Regions from separate parts of the Homo sapiens genome. Here regions 2 and 3 are each linked to region 1. Evidence: promoter capture Hi-C in 16 types of primary human blood cells and fetal thymus (Javierre and others, 2016). All regions are on one chromosome and are shown on one strand. The core of a region is centred on a gene start or on the middle of the fragment in contact, and the rest is flanking DNA. Distances in the headings are between cores, read along the strand shown.

Region 1 (2,700 bases), core at 166-2,665:
CTCCCTCCACACCTCTCGGCAAGCTGAGGGAGCCGGCTCCGGCCGCAGCCAGCCCAGGAAGGGGCTCCCACAGTGCAGCGGTGGGCTGAAGGGCTCCTCAAGCGCGGCCAGAGTGGGCGCCAAGGCCGACTAGGCGCCGAGAGCGAGCAAGGGCTGTGAGGACTGCCAGCACGCTGTCCCCTCTCACTGGGTTGCTATTAAAAATGGGCGCTGAATATAAAAATTAACCGGGCGTGGTGGTGCATGTCTGTAAGTCCCAGCTACTCCGGAGGCTGAGGTGGGAGAATAGTTTGAGCCCGAGAGACTGAGGCTACGGTGAGCCGTGATTGTGCAACTGCACTCCAGCCTGGGCGACAGAGTGAGACCCAGTCTCAAAACAAAATCAAACACGGGCGCTGCCCTGGGCAGGGGAGGTCTGGGCACAGCTGTGCTGATGTGGGCAGTGGACAGGTGTCACGTGAGAGCCTGTGGCCAAGCCTAAGCTGCGGTTAAGGTGGGAGGCTGAAGGGTTTGGAGTGTGCACCACCCCGGACCACCTCTCAGTAGGAATGTGGCAATGCACTTCGGTGCTGGATTCCTACTTCTGGCTGTGTGATTTGCGACACGTTACCCCACGCACCTGTACCACAACTTCCTCATCTCCCAAATGGGATGACAGTAGTTAGCAAACCTCCCTGGACTGCTGTGAGCATTCTGCCAGAAAAATGTACTCCAAGCTCTTGAAGTAGGCCTGGCGTTTGGTTGGTGCTCAGTACATATTCAATGTTTCTGTCGCTGGCGTCATCACTGTGTTCATGGCAGAGCTCTGTGCCGCCAGGACTGGGCCGCCACCCAGACCTTCCTTTCCCGCCCCAGGGGTGAACTGTGGACAGGACCCTCTGGGGGGACTAGGCCAAGGCTCTCCCACCTCTGGGGACCCGCGCCCATGGGCCTCAGATATGTGGCTCGAGAAGGGGGAGTGGGGGCAGGGCCCCTGGAAAACCCCTCGAGGCCAGACCCACCACTCCCAATATCCGTAAGACCAGGGGCTTGAGTCTTTCCTGCAGACAGATGTGGGCAGGAACCCACCCGACTCCCAGCTACGTGGGGACGTGGACGAACTAACAGGACAAATTCTAGTTCCTGGACACCGCCCTCCCAGTATCCTCGCAATTAGACACCCATGCAGCGGCACTACACTGATCCGCACACGGAGATACACAGCGACATCCGCCCGCAAGAGCATGGTGGGTGCCGGAGCTCCCGGCTGTGGGCCCAGGAACTACATTTCCTAGAAGGATGTGCTAGATACTCGTTCGCGTCGGGACGCAAGCACCGGCCCGAACTCGCTCTAGGAAATGGAGTCTGACGCCTGCGCGGCGCAAACGCTCCCGGGAGGTGTAGTTTGCGCCTATTTCGCGCAGGCGCGCTTTCCCGCAGCGGCCGCCTGCTGCTCTTTGTGGCAGTCGCAGTCCTTTTGTGGGAGTCCGGTCTGTCCACTTGCCGGTCCCTCAGACCGTCGGCGGTCTCTGTCCGCTTCGGGACCTGTCCGCTGGTCGCTCCGCGTCCGATGGCTCCTGGCCGCGGAACCTTAGGCCTGGCCCTGGTCTCCGAGCGCGGGTTCGCCGGGAGGAGCGTGTGGCGGGGGTGTGCCGGGGCGTGAGTGCGCCGAGCATGGGGCTGAGCCTGGTGTGGGGAGTGGGTATCTGCGGAGCCGGCCTGAACCCCACCTCAGCCGGGCGCGGGGAGGGGGCTCCGTGCGTGTGATCGTGCAGCTGTGAGCGCGTGGCCGCCCCGCGGGGCTCCGCTGCAGGCCCCTCAGCCCCAGGAGCAGTACTCGCTCTTCAGGGCCTGCCCTGGATCCTGGAGGCTACACAGCTGCCCACTCCTCCTGGGGAGGCTGCCGTGGAGGCCATGGAGATCCCTGCCCCGGAGCCCGAGAAGACAGGTACAGCTTCACTCTTGTAGTCAGTATGTCTGTGGATTTGCACTTGAGGATATTGACACTCAGAGAGATCAGGCCAGTTTCCCAGAAGCATCCAGCATCTTTTTTTTTTTTTTTAAATGGAATCTCACTCTGTCACCCAGGCGGGAGTGGTGCAATGGCTTGATCTCCGCTCACTGCAACCTCTGCTTCCCGGGTTCAAACTATTCTCCCGCCTCAACCTCCCAAGTAGTTGGGATTGCAGGCGCGCGCCACCACGCCCGGCTAATGTTTGTATTTTTAGTAGAGACGGGGTTTTGCCATGTTTCCCAGGCTGGTCTTAAGCTCAAGCGATCCGCCCGCCTCGGCCTCCCAAAGTGCTGGGATTACAGGCGTGAGCCATCGCTCCTGGCCTCCTGCTTCTTTCTTCCCCGCGCCCAATCATTTGTTCCCACTCAGACGTGCTTGATTGGGGGTAGCAGCTCTTTTCGTCATGAATTGGAGTGTCTGAGACACAGGCAGATTATTCCTCGATGCTGTTTCTGTTGGTGCTAGCTACTGGGGCTCGTTCCCCACCTGGCCTTGCTGGCAGGTTCTGCCTCCTCTCTGATTCTCACTTGTGCCACGACAGGTGGGCTTTAAGCTCAGCCGTGAGCCTGGTAGCCGTGACCTTGACTCATTTCTCCTTCGCCAGCTCTTTCCTCTCAGGATCCTGCTCTTTCCCTGAAAGAGAATCTCGAGGATATATCGGGTTGGGGTCTTCCCGAAGCCAGGTCCAAGGTGAGTGGCTGTGTGTT
Region 2 (2,700 bases), core at 152-2,651, 220 kb before region 1:
TGGGAGGAGCAGCGCCCTTCCTTCTGTGCAGGGAGTCTGATCAGGGTTCTGTCTCACTGTGGGACAGTGGGGGCCGGGGAAGAGCGGCAGGTACCAAGTGCAGACAGCAGATGTAGATGCATGCGGGGGTCCGGGCTGGGGCCAAGAACACAGCCCTGGAGTCAGGGACACCGGCTTCATGTCCTCACTCTGCCATTCAAGAGCTGGGGGACCTCGGGCAGGTGGTGTAGGAACAGGGAGGAGTCTGCCTGCAGCACGCAGAGGAGGGCTGTGCTGGTCAGGGGGTGTTTTGGGGAGAGGACCTCAAAGGGAGGTTGACTTTGGGAAAGGGGTCAGAGTACAGAAAAAGTGGGTCCAAATCCTGCTTCAGCACTGAGACCCTGCCTCGGCAGGGGTCTCCAAGCTTGGCTCCACCCCCTGAGGGGCCAGTTACTGCATACCTCGCCCACCCAGGAGCTGGGGGCCCTGGTCCTGTTTCCCAGGGAGCTGTTGGCACTTGTGGGCTCCTGGCTGGGGTCCAGGTGGGCTCTGCTCCTCTGCCCTGCCCAGCGCTTTGTACTGAGCCCATCCTGCAGAGACTCAACGGGGCCAAACGCACATTCCTTGACCTTCTGTGAGTCTGTCAGTCTTCATCCCTCCCTGGACCTAGGAAGGCCTGGACAGCTTTGACCATTGGTGTTGGGTGGACATGGCGCTGCGCTGCACCCCAGGCCCTCAGAGCCCAGCTGTTCTGCTTTCTGCTTTTGGTCCTGAGCTGCCTTGAAGGAATCTGACCAGCAGGGAGAGCCCACGGAGCGGGAGGGCCTGTGGGGCTCAGCCCTGCAGCCGGTCTGCCGAGGCCAGGCCTGGGGGCACAGCTGGGGCTGAGTACACTGAATGCCCCCTCGATGCCATGCACAGCAGAAGAGCTGCCCACACCGCCCTGCTGGGCCCTGCCCGGGCTCCAGACCCACAGACCAAGCACACAAGAGACTGGGCTGCTTTGTCATGCAGCAGCAGGTAGCCGGACACATGTTTCCCCATTCCCCTGCCATCCTCTGAAATCCTGTGGGGAGAAAGCATGTGAGGTCCAGTGGGGGTTGGGGTGAGGGTCTGACTGGGGGCTTTCTAACCCACGTCTGAGTCCCATCCGGCGCCAGTGCCACAGTGGCGGGTGACTGGTGCTGCTCACACTGGCAAGCTCCTACCTAGACTTTGGAGCCCAACTCCACAAGGCCCCTGAACTACCCCTGTAGGCACCGCAGCCCCCTTGCCTTCCTCTGCTACGACATCAACCACTCTGATGGTATTTGTGGTTTGATGTGTTTAAGTAAAAGGCTTGTTGCAGAGTTTAATTGACCCCATATGTCTGCCTGAGGAGGCCGTGAGCTGCAGAGGGCAGGTGTGAGCTGGGCTCTTTCCTCAGTCCCCATGTCTTGCTGGGTACTCACAGGGCACACACGAGCACGTGCGGCAGGGGCAGGGGCCAGCGGGGGATGGGGAGGCTTGGCGCCCACGGCCCCGCTGCCCCATGTTTCCACTGCAGCCGAGGAGAAAACGAGGACTTTACGGCTGTCACAAACATTTCATCTTGTGCATTTTACAGTCCACGACTGCTGTGAACACTGGGGCTCCTGTCGGAGCTAGAAGATTCATAAAATGCATGTGAATTATTTTATTTTATTTTATTGTTTTGAGATGGAGTCTCACTCTGTCACCCAGGCTGGAGTGCAGTGGCGCGATCTTGGCTCACTGTAACCTCCACCTCCTGGGTTCAAGCAATTCTCCTGCCTCAGCCTCCCAAGTAGCTGGGACTATAGGCGTGCGCCACCACGCCTGGCTAATTTTTTTGTATTTTTAGTAGAGACGGGGTTTCGCCATGTTAGCCAGACTGGTCTCAAACTCCTGACCTCAAGTGATCCTCCCACCTCGGCCTCCCAAAATGCTGGGATCACAGGTGTGAGCCACTGCGCCTGGCCAAATGCATGTGAATTTTTATGTTCAATTATTCCAGGTTCCCTGCTCGGGGCCCATGGGCTTCCCCATGTACAACCCACCGGTAGGTCCCCGCCCAGTCCATGCTCCTCAAAGGCCAGCCTCACACCCATCCCACGTCCTCTTGGCTGGTAAACACTCTCCCCCTTCTTCCTTCTCCCTCCACATCTCAACTGCTGGAAGGGAAGAGCTCCTCAGTCTACTTGGAGTCCCTCCTGCACAAGAGGATCCAGGGTGGTCCAGGAGGGCCAAACCCACCTCTTTGGGTGCACCCCTGGGCAGTGGATTGGGGATCCAGGGCTTGTGGGGGTATGCACCCACCAGGGCAGGTCCCTCAGGCTCACTCTCCCTGCGCCTCAGTTTCCTCTCCTGAAAAATGGGCTTGTGACTAAATGTTGCAGGGAGCTGCTGAGAAAACGCCTGCTGAAAGCTTGGCAGGAGGTCATTGTGACCAGGGATGGGGCTGGGTGCTTCGGTCAGGCCAGGGCTGGAGGCAGGGGCTCACACTGGGGTCAGCAGTGCAGGGGCGTGGCTGGCGTGGCAGGCGCATGGGGATTGGCTCATCAGTTGCGGCCTCACGTCCCTTCGTTATGGCGCCTGCAGAAGATGTTCTCTGATTAGTCTGCTGAATTATGAATTAGGTTCCGGGTCCCTGTGCAGCTGTTCCCGGCTTGTCATCCCCACCACTTTATTTCCCCATCTGTTTATAAAACCAGGAGCGCCGTC
Region 3 (2,700 bases), core at 18-2,517, 250 kb before region 1:
GCACACCTTATAGGGAAGCTGCAGAGGGCAGCCTGGAGTCCTGGAAAGCTTCCCGGAAGAGGGGGTGGCCTTGGAGCCAAGTGCTGATGGCTGGGAAGATGGGAAGTGGTGGGGGGTGTTGTGCATTCTAGAGTCCCTAAGTGTTCTACTTTGTCATCTGGGGAGGGAGGTGACAAACTAAAAAGAAGGGGCTGTCTGGATGGGGATGTGCCTGACTGGGAAGAGTAGGGGAGACATGCCCCATGCACTTACTGACCAAGGACTGGGGCTCCCCACACCCCAGAATCTGCCTGGTGAGAGGCCCCACTGGGCCAGGGACAGGCCTGGATGAGGCATCGTGGCGCATTTTCCATCTGGGGCTCCCACCTCCAGCCTGTGTACCGCCCCCGCCCCCTACCCCGCCCCAGTCATGGAGCCTAGGTCGCTGGAATGGGGTGACCTTAGGTCTGTGGGCCTCTCTGAGACGGCTGCCCTGAGAGGTTGCCGGGTCAGGGCACGGGTAGCCCACATGCTGTACTGATACGCACAGCCTCTGGCCGTTACTCGAAGGAGCGATGTGGCTGAGGTTTCTTGGCAGGGCTGTGGCAGCCTCCCCACTGCCTCTGAGCTCTGAGGGTGACCTTGCAGGCCCAGCCTGCCGCACCACATAGCTCTGCGCCTGCATCCGCTCTGCACCCCCAGACTCCACTCTCTGCCCCCACTGTCTACTGCAGGTGCCCGTGGTTGACACGAGCTGTGTCCCCAGCTGTTCCCGTCTACAATGGCATCATCTTCCTCTTTGTCCTGGCCAACTTCAGCATGGCCACTTTCATGGACCCTGGTGTTTTCCCCCGAGGTAGGGCCCTGTGCTGCGGCAGCTCCTCTCACTTTCACTAGAGTGTGAGTGGCTAACTTGAGACAGCCTTAGGGATTCCTGGTGGGTGGGCTGGACTTGGGGGAGGGATTCACCTGCCAGGAAAGTCAACTTCCTGCTCACTGCCTGGCTCCTGGTCTGTAGCGGATGAGGATGAGGACAAGGAGGACGACTTCCGGGCTCCGCTGTACAAGAACGTGGATGTGCGAGGTATCCAGGTCCGCATGAAGTGGTGTGCCACGTGCCACTTCTACCGCCCGCCGCGCTGCTCCCACTGCAGCGTCTGTGACAACTGTGTAGAGGTGACCGCCCTGCTGCCCCGCGCTCCCCCAGCCCTGTGCCACATCCCTGCCTGCCATGTGCCCTGATGCACTGCTCCCGCCCAGGACTTTGACCACCACTGCCCCTGGGTCAACAACTGCATCGGGCGTCGAAACTATCGCTACTTCTTCCTGTTCCTGCTGTCACTCAGTGCACACATGGTGGGCGTCGTGGCCTTCGGCCTGGTCTACGTGCTGAACCACGCTGAGGGGCTGGGAGCCGCGCACACCACCATCACGTATCCTTGGTTCCTGTGGGCCTCATTGCAGAGGCGATGTGGACCGGGGACACGTTCACCAGGGAGATTGAGCCTCAGAAGGCTTGGTTCCTGCCCAGGGATCCCCAGTGGGCAGGTGGCCGTCCCTAGGTTGGGAGGAGGTTTGTCCACAGGCACCTGCTCTGTGCTGCTGCGATGGGGTCTGCGGTGTCCTGGCCTGCACCGTTGGCCTTAACGGGCTAGCATGGCTGTCATGTGTGTGGCCGGCCTCTTCTTCATCCCTGTCATTGGCCTCACTGGCTTCCATGTGGTGCTGGTCACTCGGGGGCGCACCACCAACGAGCAGGTGCAGACCCCATGGGGGATGGGTGGCCCCAAAGGGCCGAGAGAGTTGGGGCTGCATGGGGACAGGGTGGGGGCTGGGGCACCCTTGCCTGAGGTAGCTTGTGCAGCTGTGTTGAGACGAGGCTCCAACTCTGAGACCCCCACGTGGGGCTACGCCTGCCCCGTCCCCTGCGCACATCCTGCCTGTGGACACTGTGGCCACCAGTGACCCAGAAATCCCACAGCTCCCTGCAAGTTCAGGCTGGGTAACCTATGTGAGGGGCAGCCCTGGGCTGATCCCACCTAAGCCACTTCCCGCAAGTATCAGCTTCTAAGGAACCCCAGCTCCCTTGCCCAGCCCCCTGCCCACCCTGGCCTGGACCTTGGGAGGCCAGGCTGGCTGAGGGTCCTGCATCCACAGGTGACTGGGAAGTTCCGCGGGGGTGTGAACCCTTTCACCCGAGGCTGCTGTGGGAATGTGGAGCACGTGCTGTGTAGCCCCCTGGCGCCCCGGTGAGGCCCGGCCTGGGCAGGGTGGAGGGGGGCCTCTGCTGGGTGTGGGGCGGGCAGCCTTAGACCCTCTTGGTCCGTTTGGCTCTTGCCAGGTATGGCCAGCCCTGCCCTTGTGTGTTTGTGGCAGGTGGGCTGGCTACTGACCCCTGTGCCCTGGTGCAGGTACGTGGTGGAGCCACCCCGGCTGCCGCTCGCGGTGAGTTTGAAGCCGCCTTTCCTTAGGCCTGAACTCCTGGACCGAGCTGCACCGCTCAAGGTCAAGCTTAGTGACAACGGGCTGAAGGCTGGCCTGGGCCGTAGCAAGGTGGGCGCCTGGGCTTAGGGATGGGCTGGCAGTCAGGCCCTTGGATGGGGAAACAGGCAGGTTGGTGGGGGCCTAGAAGAGGTGGATGGGGCAGACAGAGCCGTAGACAGATTCTTGGGAGGGGGCTAGGTCCCAGGCTGAATCCCTAGTGAAGCCCTGCCCCTCATC

Evidence for each region. The method cuts DNA at HindIII sites, captures the fragments that hold promoters and counts their contacts. A CHiCAGO score of 5 or more calls a contact.
Region 2: a fragment that was not itself captured here is called in contact with the fragment with the promoter of ZNF74 in region 1 in 1 of 17 cell types (M0 macrophages); the score reaches 6.7 in M0 macrophages.
Region 3: a contact is called between a fragment that was not itself captured here and the fragment with the promoter of ZNF74 in region 1, in 1 of 17 cell types (erythroblasts). The highest score is 5.0, in erythroblasts.

The regions. Positions count from the first base shown.
Region 1 is chr22:20,392,736-20,395,435 of GRCh38, forward strand. ZNF74 (zinc finger protein 74) reads left to right here and starts at 1,416. Exons shown (of 5, transcript NM_003426.4): 1 at 1,416-1,927; 2 at 2,598-2,683. The coding sequence starts at 1,894. RefSeq lists enhancers at 526-1,515, 917-986, 1,457-1,596. The HindIII fragment of the contact is 14,387 bases long and covers 1-2,700 here.
Region 2 is chr22:20,174,307-20,177,006 of GRCh38, forward strand. No RefSeq gene overlaps it. Among named protein-coding and RNA genes, the nearest start is that of CCDC188, 25 kb to the left of the region's middle. RefSeq lists an enhancer at 2,485-2,700. The HindIII fragment of the contact is 2,001 bases long and covers 402-2,402 here.
Region 3 is chr22:20,138,481-20,141,180 of GRCh38, forward strand. ZDHHC8 (zDHHC palmitoyltransferase 8) reads left to right here. Exons shown (of 11, transcript NM_013373.4): 2 at 714-835; 3 at 998-1,155; 4 at 1,240-1,412; 5 at 1,635-1,737; 6 at 2,137-2,228; 7 at 2,391-2,532. Among named protein-coding and RNA genes, the nearest start is that of ZDHHC8, 8.0 kb to the left of the region's middle. The HindIII fragment of the contact is 2,442 bases long and covers 47-2,488 here.